Regions from separate parts of the Homo sapiens genome. Here all the other regions are linked to region 3. Evidence: promoter capture Hi-C in human tissues and cell types (Jung and others, 2019). All regions are on one chromosome and are shown on one strand. The core of a region is centred on a gene start or on the middle of the fragment in contact, and the rest is flanking DNA. Distances in the headings are between cores, read along the strand shown.

Region 1 (3,919 bases), core at 935-3,434, 140 kb after region 3:
TGTACTTCATCCATTACCCCCAGGCTGACGGAGCCAGAGAGGAGTGAATCTATTGAAAAGGAACAGGAAGAAGCCTGCTGTTAGTGTGAACTCTATTTGAACTAGGTGTGACAGCAGGTTTCATTCTTTAGCATTTGGAGTAGACCCTTCTTGCTATTTGGAGATTATTTTGTTCTCTCATCTCTAATAATTCCAAGTATTAGTATTTGTTAAAGTGAAATATTTCTTTTTTAATGTGACATTTATCTATAGAAGCTAGTTTTTATAAACATACTATTATTTTTTCCCACATGTTGGGAACATACTCTGTATTACAACTCACCAACTAGCATGCCTTCAAAGATTGTTAATTCTTTTAATTCTTGCTATTTTGAGTTAAAGAGATTTATTGATATACAATTACTTGCTTAAAATGTTGATCTCAATGGGTATCAAAGACTTAAAAGATGTAAAAAGGTTTTTTAAATGTAGTTTACAATATAGATTGATTCACTGTACTCTGAAAAGAAAGCTTACATTTCTTTGAAATATATCAGTGGTCATGTACCAGTGTCCTGGCTTGGTTCATGTAATTTGGATAATTAGTGTTTGCTGCTATATGGTGATATGTTTGTGTTGGCTCTGAAAAGAGAATGTTATGTGATCTGTTATTATATCTAAGTGAGAACTCTAGAAATGAATTTACCTGTTCTTTTTTTCTAAAGTTGGTTAGTAATCAGTTTAAAAACTTACAGAATTTAATATACACATCTGACAAAAATTTTCAAAAGTTACAGTTTTATGAAATCCCTATTTATAAATACCTGAGTTTTGTGTTAATTTTTTTTAATTATCACAAACTTTAACATACTGGAAGTATTTTTATAAATACTTTTTTTTTCTCTCAACAGGTAAAGTACCTTTTATTCATGTGGGAAATCAAGTAGTATCAGAACTTGGTCCAATAGTCCAATTTGTTAAAGCCAAGGTAATAAAAAGATATTAAATGTATTTGATCAGTTACCAAGTCATTCATCATTCTTTAATGTGTCTTAACATTTACATTGATTTCAACCTAGTTTTATAAAATGCCAATGCAAACTACTGGAAAATATTTCTGAAGTGTAAGTTAGTATTTTTTCATGATATAATGGCAAAAGAGGTAGCTTTTTTTCCTCTATTAATGTCAAATTTATTAAAGGTATGTAATTTTAATATCTAGTCTAAAGAGATGGTTTGATCTTTACAAAATGGTAGATAATTTTCTAACTTATGCTTACTACAACTGTGGTCATAAATGAAAAACTATTAGGTTTTGAAGTGTCTGGCTGACCTTTGAAAAGGGAGATACAGGATTTGTTTGAAGTTGAATGTATTTATCCATTTGAATGATTCTGCTTTTCATTTATTCAGTTTAGATTTTAATAGTTATTAAGGAACAACTCCCATTAGTGTTTCTGAAAAATCATTCCAGACTTTTTGAATATATAGAAAAACCTAGATCATACTAGTGTGTATTATTTTGCAACATACCTTTTAAAATCATAAATATGTTTGGAAATTCTTCCATATTAATAGCTGTAGGTATATATCATCCTTTCACATTGTTGTATTCTGCTGTATTGGAGATATATATATATCTCCAAAATATATATATATATTATTTTTTTTTTCTTCAACACCCTCCCCCTGTATTGGATAAATTAGAATTTTATTTACTCAAGTTTATTGTTGGGCTTTTAGGTCATGGCCAATTTTTTGTTTTTATAGAGTACTAAGATAAATTTTCTTATATATACATCTTTGTATAAATTCCTAAGGTTGGTATTGGTACCTTAGGATAAATTCCTGAGAGTGGTATTAGGATGTCATAGGTTATGTACTTTTTAAATCTTGTAATAGATTGCCAGATTGAACTAAAGGTTATATCATTTTATGTATCTCCTAGTAACTATAGAGTATTAGAATTTTAAAATAAGTGGGTTTCTCCCCCCATATCTTTACAAACGTATTTTTTTCATCTTTGACCACTTTATAAACAGCACATGTCAGTCTTTTGGCATTTCCTTTATTTCTAAATAAGGTTAATCTCTTAAACAAGGTTTGCTGACCATTCTGTTTTCTTCTTTTGTGAAGTAGTTGATAGTGTAATTTTCTCTATTGAAAGATACATTTGTATAATGACAAGTAAGTACATACTAATATTTTGTAGTGATAGCAGAGTATTATTTATGCTTTTATATAAAATAATTTTTAGGGGGCATTTTGGACGTTTAATTCATTGTATAGTTGCATGTTACGTTATTTGTTAGTGAGATAACTGAAAGTTTTTGTATATTTAATATGATGTTCTTTTAAATTTTTTTAAATTCCCTTTAGGGCCATTCTCTTAGTGATGGGCTGGAGGAAGTCCAAAAAGCAGAAATGAAAGCTTACATGGAATTAGTCAACAATATGCTGTTGACTGCAGAGGTAAAATACTAGATGATACGGCTTGAAAATAAGCTTTTTCTCTCATTCTCATAAAATATAATCTTTCTTATGGGTTAAAGTTATTGAGAAATGGGAAAATAGTCAAGTAATTCTAGAGTTGAGTTGGCTACCTAAATTATTTGATTATTACCTTTGAACAAGTTACCTGACATTTTCAGTTCTAGTTTTTCTGTTTATAAAAAGGAGTGATTCTTGCCTACTCATTATTTTACTTTGGCCTTTTGAAATTTGCTTAAATAATATCTGTAAAACACTTTAATGGTATTTAGACATGTATTGTGTGAATAAAAAATATTTTTATAACGTACCATCATTACATTTTTGTGGATAGCAGCTAAGAAAAACAAACCGCTACATGTGTGACTTATGAAATTAGCTTATAAAAAATTGCCTTGGCAAAAAATAACTTTCTTTATCCTTTTCCTCTTTGGTATTCTAAAGTTTAGTGACTGTTCTTTTGTTCCTAGCTGTATCTTCAGTGGTGTGATGAAGCTACAGTAGGGGAGGTGAGTGGTTCTGTAACATTTATCTTAATTAAAATTTAATGAGAAAACACTTTTGCTCAGAATCGCAAGTCCCTGCTCATAAATGAAACATTGTGGTTTATACCATTAGTGATATAGTTTTTCACTTACTTTAATTTTGCTTGCACATAACATTTTAGGGAAGCTATGTGTCATTGTTTGATATAACGGGTTGCAAAGTACATAAAAGTTTATATATTTTTAAAGGGAATGGCTTAAAATTTTAATTTTTTAGATTGCAGGATGTGTATTTTTTTCAGATTGCTCTATTTATGTTCTCTGAAAATATATTTCTTTTAGAATTCTATTTGTAAAAACGGGCATTGTTTTTAGGAAGGATCACCTTTTTTACAAAATCTTTTTACTTTAGATCACTCATGCTAGGTATGGATCTCCTTACCCTTGGCCTCTGAATCATATTTTGGCCTATCAAAAACAGTGGGAAGTCAAACGTAAGATGAAAGCTATTGGATGGGGAAAGAAGACTCTGGACCAGGTCAGTTCAGGTTGAAGTTGACAAAACCCTCAACTTTTATGCATTAAAAGAATCATTCTTTATATTGATACTCCTTTAAAAAAATATATATAAGATTTGCAAGAAAACCATTTCCTGTGATTTTCACTAACATGAAGTAATTTTATTTCTAAAAAATCATACATGCTTGATGTAAAGCAAACAATGCAATGCAGATATGTGTAAAAAAGCAATAAAACTTGCCTGAAATCTCATCACCTAGAAAATACCACCCTTAACTATTTGGAGAGCCTTCTTCTAGATGTTTCTTAGTAACATTTTCTCAAATGGGATCATTATGCCTGCTACTGTATAACCTGAGGGTTTTTTTTTTTTTTTAATTGAACAATACATTGTGGGCACCTTTTATGTAACTAAATATAGATCTGCAGCATCAGGGCTTAAAAAA
Region 2 (4,149 bases), core at 1,252-3,751, 180 kb after region 3:
ATCTCTACTAAAAATACAAAATTAGCCAGGCATGGTGGTGCATGCCTGTAATCCCAGCTACTCGGGAGGCTGAGGCGGGAGAATTGTTTGAACCTGGGAGGTGGAGGTTGCGGTGAGTCGAGATGGTGCCATTGCACTCCAGCCTGGGCAACAAGAGCAAAACTCCATCTCCAAAAGAAAAAAAAAAAAAGAAAAAGAAAAGAAAATATTGGGAAGAAACTTTTTATGACCTTGGAGTAGGAAAAGGTTTTCTATGTAGGTTACAAAAATATTTATGAAAAAACTTTGAAAATTGGACTTAATCAAAATTTAAAACTTTTGCTCTTCCAAAGACAATAAATTAAAAAAGGCTTACCATAGGGGAAAGTTTTGCAATAATATAGCTGATAAAGGTCTTGTATCCAGAACAACAAAGAACTCAGAAATTAATAAAAAGCCAACTAAAAATACAAGGTTAAAAGATGAGCAAAAGACTTAGGCATTTTACAAAAAAAATGCATGAATGACCAATAAATGCATGAAGAAAAAGCTTAATTATATTAGTCATCAGGGAAATGTAAATTAAATCACAATGAAATGTCATCACACACCTATTGAAATGACTAAAATAGAAAAGTTTGATAATATGTGTTGAGAAGGACATGAAACAATTGAAATTCTCATTCACTGCTAGTGGGAGTGTAAATTGGTGCAAGCACTTTAGGAAACTGGCTGTTTCTTAAAAATATATTTACTATATGATTCAGTAATTCTACAGCTAAGTACCCCAGAGGAATGAGGCCATGTCCATGCAAAGATTAATGCCTGGGTGTTCACAATAGCTTAATTCATAGTATCCCACAATTAGAAAAAAGTCCAAAAGTCCATTTACAGGTGAATAGATAAATTATGGTACCTTTAAACAATAGGACACTACTCAGTAAAAAAAGTAACGAACAACTGTTACTTGCAACAGTCTGGGTGAATCCCTAAACCATTACATATGCTGCAGGTAAGAGGGCAGACATGAAAGTACATTCTCTATGCATATATAAATTTTACAATACACAAAGTTAATCTATAATGACAGCAGATCAAGGGTTATCTGAGGTCAGATTTTTGTTGTTGTTGGTTTTCTTTTTGTATTGAATGTATAAGGCACTTGGGGGGGTAATGGAAGAATTCTATATATTGGTTTTGATGTTTATAAGATGTACACATTTGTCAAAATTCACCAAACTTCATTTTATTGTATGTAATTATACCATAATAAAGTTGATTTAAAGAAATGAATTGGGTGACACTTTCTTCTGTTCCCTGAAATTTATATAAGATAAACATTGCAAGCTAAGTTATTTTTTTACTTTTTTGGTTTTTTTGGTTGTTATTGTTTAGTACCTCTCCATTCAGCCAGGGATCACAAACTCAGTTCAGAAGCCACATATGTAATGAATAGAATGAGACCGACTAGTTATTAGACAAAAGGCATAGCAGGGGCTGTGCCAAAGTGGATAATGCATCCCTGTACCTTAAGGCATTAAAGTAAAAGAATTAAAACAACCTGCCTGCCAAACCAAAATGTCTGTAGGCAATATTCAACTGGTTGACCATCATTATGCATCCATTGACTTGTGACTTAAAATATATACCACCATTTAAAGCAGTTTCTCAATGAGGAGTCAAGAAATATCTTGGGAAGCTTTTTCAAATAACACGCAGTCCCTTTACCATCTGCCTAATTGAGGACCACTGGTATACTATGTTGGTATCTAGAGCTAAATAATAATGATCAAGTTGATGGCACCATGTGGCTTTAGTTACTGGCCATTGCTAACAGTTTTCTTTTTGCCAGCAGAGAATGTTAATTTTGCTATGGATTTTAGCAAAACTACACTTGTGCACAATTGCTTTATTAGAGAAATGACAAGAGATAACCATATGCAGCTCTCAAATGACCCACATTATAATGTCTAGTACATGGGCGAAAATTCTGTTTTCTTATTTATTATTCATTTATTCATCCATTCAATAAATATTTAAATGCATGCAAAAATGAGTTCATGATTTCTTTTCTCTGAAGATATTTAAAACTTAGTATTGGGAGGGAGAAAAGCTAGCACTGGTATTCAGATGGCGAATGTTGCTGAGATGGGATTAATGAAGCCTCTTAGGATCAGTTGGACTGCTAGCAAATGCTTCATTTCCTGTGGATTTCTCCCCTCACAAGCTGAGCAGAGCTTCAACAGTTCTCACAACAATTATCACCCACTTGTCCTGTAGGTCTCAAGTTTTTTTGCATTCATCAGGTTGAAGGATTCATGGTATTAATCACAACTGAAGTTGTTATTTATCACCTGCTGGGTGAGAAATAATAATTTTGGCACGAGTGGGGCAGCAGGCCAGAGGTACCAAATTAAGTAAAACATCTAAACACTAGCAAGGATCATTTCTCTGATTAATGAATTGTTACAAAGAAAAAGTGCTACTCATTATCTGGTCTTACCAATACAAAGTGGGGCATGTAAGAAGAAAAGTCCCAGCTTGCTCAGGCCAATTTTTCTGTTTATTTCATTCCTTTCTTTCTTTCTCTCTCTTTTTGAGACAAATCTGTGCACAGATTTGTGTTGCAGTCATGCTATTTTTTGTTTTGTTACCAAATAGAAATGAAGAAATAACTTACGTTTTACATCAGAAAATATTTCTGGCTATTGAAACAATGTTTTTAGTGACTTCTAAGAATTTAAAGTAATTTTGAAATAGGACAGGTAGGTTACCTTTAATTTGTTGAATTACCTTCTCATATGTATATAAATTAAACTTTTTACTCTAAAGAGTCAATGTATTTTTCTTTTTCTACTTTGAATTGGATACTATTGCCAAAGGGCTTGTTTTAGAGAGGGTAAATTTTCATTTCTATTTTTTTTTGTTCTTTGGCAATTCTGAATAAGAAAAGCTCATTTTCACTCTGACACTTAGAGCAATTTTTGTCTTTCACAATGCTATCCAAGAACTTCTACTTCTAGTCATGATGGAGAGGAACAAGGACTGGATGTATCCTCCTGCCTTAAACAATTGTAGAAATCAGACCAAATATATAAAACAATGGTTTAAGACATGAAACAATAGTCAGTTTAGAACAGTGATGCCTGCATGAAAAGAAACAAAATAAGCCATTCAATTACCCAGCTTCTGCTTAGAAGGCATTTCTAGGCTGCCTCACAGGAAAGAGGAGAACCCAAGCAGAGCCCAGCAGTCTCCCTGAGTTGAGAATACAAGAATTCCAGGCCAAGAAGGCCACAGTAGCTAGAATTCACAAAGCAGAGTACTGAAGAGAAGATAACTGCATAAAGAGAGAGAACTCTGGAGATCTGTATAAGGTTCTAGTCTTCAACTGAGTATTGATCATCACATGCTTATGAAGAAACTTCACTAAGGCTGGGAAAGAACTATTGGAAAAGAGCAAGCCAAGCAAGCCTTAGAGTTCAGAGAAGGCTGAAAATAGTTTGTATTCTCCTTAGAGTGAGAAGACCATCTAATACATGTGGCATTGAAGTTCTCAGAACGGTATTCCTTCAGTATTGGGGCCCAATTAGACCTAGACTAATGGTTGTCTAGACCTACCTAACAAAGCTTAAAAGCAAGCATCAAAATCAACATGGTGAAACCTTGTCTCTACTAAAAATACAAAAATTAGCCAGGCATGGTGGTGCATGCATGTAGTCCCACCTACTCTGGAGGATGAGACAGGAGAATTGCTTGAACCCAGGAGGGAGAAGTTGCAGTGAGCTAAGACGGCTGGTGCCACTGCACTCCAGCCTGGGCAACAGAGTGAGACTCTGTCTCAATCAATCAATCAATCAATAGAATTAATTCCAAGACTGCATTCCAGAACAAGGCCTTAAAACAGTTAAGGAACACAAAAATCTCCAGCACCCATTAATGTAAAATTCACAATGTCTGCGACCCAAGATAACATTATCAGGTGTGCAAAAAGCAGGAAGAGAAAAATCAATCAGTAGAAATAGACCCAGAAATGACACAGATGACACAGATTAGTAGACAAAGATGTTAAAACAGCTATTATATAACATACTTTTTATGTTCAAGAAGGTAGACAAGGGAATGCTATCTAAAGAGTTATTCTAGGTATATTGATATTACTAGAACTTT
Region 3 (3,875 bases), core at 872-3,371:
AAGAACTTTTATTTTTCTCTTCTTAAAAATTATTTAGGGCCGGGCGCGGTGGCTCACGCCTGTAATCCCAGCACTTTGGGAGGCCGAGGCGGGCGGATCACGAGGTCAGGAGATCGAAACCATCCTGGCTAACACGGTGAAACCCCGTCTCTACTAAAAATACAAAAAATTAGCCGGGCATAGTGGTGGGCGCCTGTAGTACCAGCTACTCGGGAGGCCGAGGCAGAAGAATGGCGTGAATCGGGGAGGCTGAGCTTGCAGTGAGCCGAGATCGCGCCACTGCACTTAAAAAAAAAAATTAAATAAATAAATAAATAAAAATTATTTAGGACCTTATCTGACTGGCTATAGCACAACTGAAATAGCAAAATCAAGATTGAAGGGCTATTTTCAGCACAGGTATTCCATTTCCAATCAAACTCAAGAACTCCAGCAGTGCAGGAACCACAGACCTCTTTAACTTTGTGCTGATTCCTAGGCATCCACCCTCTACTGGCTCCCCTCAACCTGGGGACATCCCTCCCCCATCCTGCAGCAACTTCGGGTCCATCAGTAGTCCACATTTTGGTAGGGCTTTGTTTATTCACAAGTCCACAACCCTGGAAGGAACTGGCTCCCTGGGCTGTGATGGCGCCTATTCTAAAGACTTCCTCAGAGTGGAAATTTAGGCAACAACAGCTCAATCGCTCTTTTATGACAAGTCAATCAGTAAAACAATGATAAAACCTCGGTTACCATAACTTAGAGGCTGTAATAGATTAACTTTTCAAGGGCACTTGATATAAGCTCTGAGTAGACTCTTTAGAGTCTTTATTCACACAGGGTTTTAGGAAACCACCCTCTTTCATAACTACTGTGTGTAAATAACCTCTATTTATCTAATTTGTAATTTTCCTACAGTCCCCTCAAAAGGGAACATTAAAAGAAATACTAAAGGAAGTTGGAAAGTTTGTCAATGTAAAGCTGGTCTTTGTAACCTTTCTACTCTTCATTTCCTGTGGCAATTGCACTTTTATTTCCCGTCTCTCTACACTCAGTAAACAAAACCATATTATCAAGGGAAAGACGTGAGCCCATTAACATTGTGAGCCCTCAGATTTCACTCACAAGAGACGATGCAGCACTTATCTGATGGAGCAGAAGCTCTAATTGCTTCGAGGTACAAGTCCATCTAAACCTCTGAGATCTCACCCGTCCCCGGTAAGCCCTTGCGCCCTCCAGACAAGCTCCTCAGTGAAAGCAAGCGCCGCACCGGTGCCTGTGCCAGTCTCCCAGAAAGGAGCATAAGGAGTGTTCCACCACCACTCTGGATTCTTTATTCCAACAACCCAGCCGGAGGGGAAAATCTGCTAAACCACCCCACAAGGCAGAAACTTTATCAAAATCTGGCACTACAACACTGGCCCTCATCACGCCGCCACAAATTGCGAGGGATAGAAGAAAGCTGCAAAGTCACGTTAAAAGGAAGCCTAGTCAAAAAGTGAAAATTTTGTCCCGCCCTAGGCACACAGCACTCACAGCATAAGATGTAGTTCCATGAGTCCTAGGAAAGGGGGAAGAAAGGAAAAAACCAAACATCTGCTCTAGGTTTAGAAGAGGGATAACATCAGCGCCAAGCAAACCGAAAGCGCAGAGGACTCAGAAGAGGGGAAGAGGAATAACTTTATCTGTCCTGGAGGTGGGCGAAGAGCAGTCTCCACCGGCCGCGCGTCACGCTCCCATTTAACCTTTTCCATGCCGCGACGCCCACACTCCGCCCTCGAGGGACTAGCCCCCCCCACGATCCAGAGCAGAAGCGGCTCGCCCCGCTGCATCCACGGGCCCTCACCCAAGCGTCCAGTCCTGCCTTTCTCCCCCCACCTCGCCCAATACCTGTCCGAGAGCAGGCGTTCTGCCCTCTCGCCCCGCCCTTGCCCAGGCAGCCCCCGGTCGCGACGGCTCTCCTCGGGGCTCGGGGGCGCTGGGCGGCGGCCCTGGGCTGCTTTGGCTAACTTGGCTGCGGGGCAGGCGCGAGGAGCGGCGCGCCGACCGGGCCGAGCGGAGAGGCCGCCCATTGGCCGGCCAGCGCCACGTGGCCGCCCCCGCCGGTATATTAGGCCACTATTTACCTCCGGCTCACTCGCCATGGGTTGGAGAGGGCAGCTCGGGTAGAGAGGGCTGGCGGAGCGGCGCAGACGGCGGCAGTCCTGCTCAGCCTCTGCCCGGCTCCGTACTCCGGCCCCGGCCTGCGCCCTCAGAAAGGTGGGGCCCGAACCATGAGCTCCTACCTGGAGTACGTGTCATGCAGCAGCAGCGGCGGGGTCGGCGGCGACGTGCTCAGCTTGGCACCCAAGTTCTGCCGCTCCGACGCCCGGCCCGTGGCTCTGCAGCCCGCCTTCCCTCTGGGCAACGGCGACGGCGCCTTCGTCAGCTGTCTGCCCCTGGCCGCCGCCCGACCCTCGCCTTCGCCCCCGGCCGCCCCCGCGCGGCCGTCCGTACCGCCTCCGGCCGCGCCCCAGTACGCGCAGTGCACCCTGGAGGGGGCCTACGAACCTGGTGCCGCACCTGCCGCGGCAGCTGGGGGCGCGGACTACGGCTTCCTGGGGTCCGGGCCGGCGTACGACTTCCCGGGCGTGCTGGGGCGGGCGGCCGACGACGGCGGGTCTCACGTCCACTACGCCACCTCGGCCGTCTTCTCGGGCGGCGGCTCTTTCCTCCTCAGCGGCCAGGTGGATTACGCGGCCTTCGGCGAACCCGGCCCTTTTCCGGCTTGTCTCAAAGCGTCAGCCGACGGCCACCCTGGTGCTTTCCAGACCGCATCCCCGGCCCCAGGCACCTACCCCAAGTCCGTCTCTCCCGCCTCCGGCCTCCCTGCCGCCTTCAGCACGTTCGAGTGGATGAAAGTGAAGAGGAATGCCTCTAAGAAAGGTAAGTCCGCGGGCCTTGGATGGGGCCACCTGGGGTTGGGGACGGAGCCTCCCCCGCGGAAATGCGCTGGGAGCGTGGTGTCGCTGCCTTTCCAGACAGCGGTTTGGGTTTTGTGGAGGAGACGCGTTCCCGGGCGAATTCCATGGAGTCTGCCTCGAGTACAGATTCGGAAAATGTGCCAGGCATTGAGAAAATTTCAGGAAGGAGCTCTCCGTGGAACTTCTCCTGGTACAAATTCTGTTCCTAGGGACCCAGGAGGGCTGCGCTGGGACTTTGATTCTAACTAGCTCCACTGCTCACCCACATTCTGTCCCCGGCCTCAGGCCTGGCTGACGCCCTGTCTTTACGTTGCAGGCAAACTCGCCGAGTATGGGGCCGCTAGCCCCTCCAGCGCGATCCGCACGAATTTCAGCACCAAGCAACTGACAGAACTGGAAAAAGAGTTTCATTTCAATAAGTACTTAACTCGAGCCCGGCGCATCGAGATAGCCAACTGCTTGCACCTGAATGACACGCAAGTCAAAATCTGGTTCCAGAACCGCAGGATGAAACAGAAGAAAAGGGAACGAGAAGGGCTTCTGGCCACGGCCATTCCTGTGGCTCCCCTCCAACTTCCCCTCTCTGGAACAACCCCCACTAAGTTTATCAAGAACCCCGGCAGCCCTTCTCAGTCCCAAGAGCCTTCGTGAGGCCGGTACTTGGGGCCGAAAAACTGTGGCCTGCAGAAGTCCCAGGCGACCCCCATCCCTATCTAGACTTAGGAGCTCAGTTTGGGATGGAGGTGGGAGAACAAAAATGAATAGGGATTTCACTTGGGAAATGAAGTACTTTAGTTGGCTTCCGAGTTCCAGACTATATGTCCAGATATTAATTGACTGTCTTGTAAGCCACTTGTTTGGTTATGATTTGTGTCTTATCAGGGAAAAGGTGCCCAGCTGCCAGCCCAGCTCCGCTGCTATCTTTGCCTC

The links. The method cuts DNA at HindIII sites, captures the fragments that hold promoters and counts their contacts. A contact is called where the count stands out against the background at its distance.
Region 1: a contact is called between a fragment that was not itself captured here and the fragment with the promoter of HOXD1 in region 3, in 2 of the 25 tissues and cell types used here (H1 embryonic stem cells and hippocampus).
Region 2: a contact is called between a fragment that was not itself captured here and the fragment with the promoter of HOXD1 in region 3, in 2 of the 25 tissues and cell types used here (hippocampus and mesendoderm cells).

The regions. Positions count from the first base shown.
Region 1 is chr2:176,325,935-176,329,853 of GRCh38, forward strand. MTX2 (metaxin 2) reads left to right here. Exons shown (of 10, transcript NM_006554.5): 5 at 891-967; 6 at 2,359-2,451; 7 at 2,940-2,978; 8 at 3,367-3,492. Among named protein-coding and RNA genes, the nearest start is that of MTX2, 58 kb to the left of the region's middle. The HindIII fragment of the contact is 3,873 bases long and covers 249-3,919 here.
Region 2 is chr2:176,362,532-176,366,680 of GRCh38, forward strand. No RefSeq gene overlaps it. Among named protein-coding and RNA genes, the nearest start is that of MTX2, 95 kb to the left of the region's middle. The HindIII fragment of the contact is 4,605 bases long and covers 200-4,149 here.
Region 3 is chr2:176,186,547-176,190,421 of GRCh38, forward strand. It overlaps HOXD1 (homeobox D1), which reads left to right and starts at 2,122. Exons shown (of 2, transcript NM_024501.3): 1 at 2,122-2,907; 2 at 3,262-3,875. The coding sequence starts at 2,256. The coding sequence ends at 3,596. HAGLR (HOXD antisense growth-associated long non-coding RNA) reads right to left here and starts at 2,412. Exons shown (of 3, transcript NR_033979.2): 1 at 2,268-2,412. MIR7704 (microRNA 7704) reads left to right here and starts at 2,297; the gene lies at 2,297-2,355. The HindIII fragment of the contact is 12,505 bases long and covers 1-3,875 here.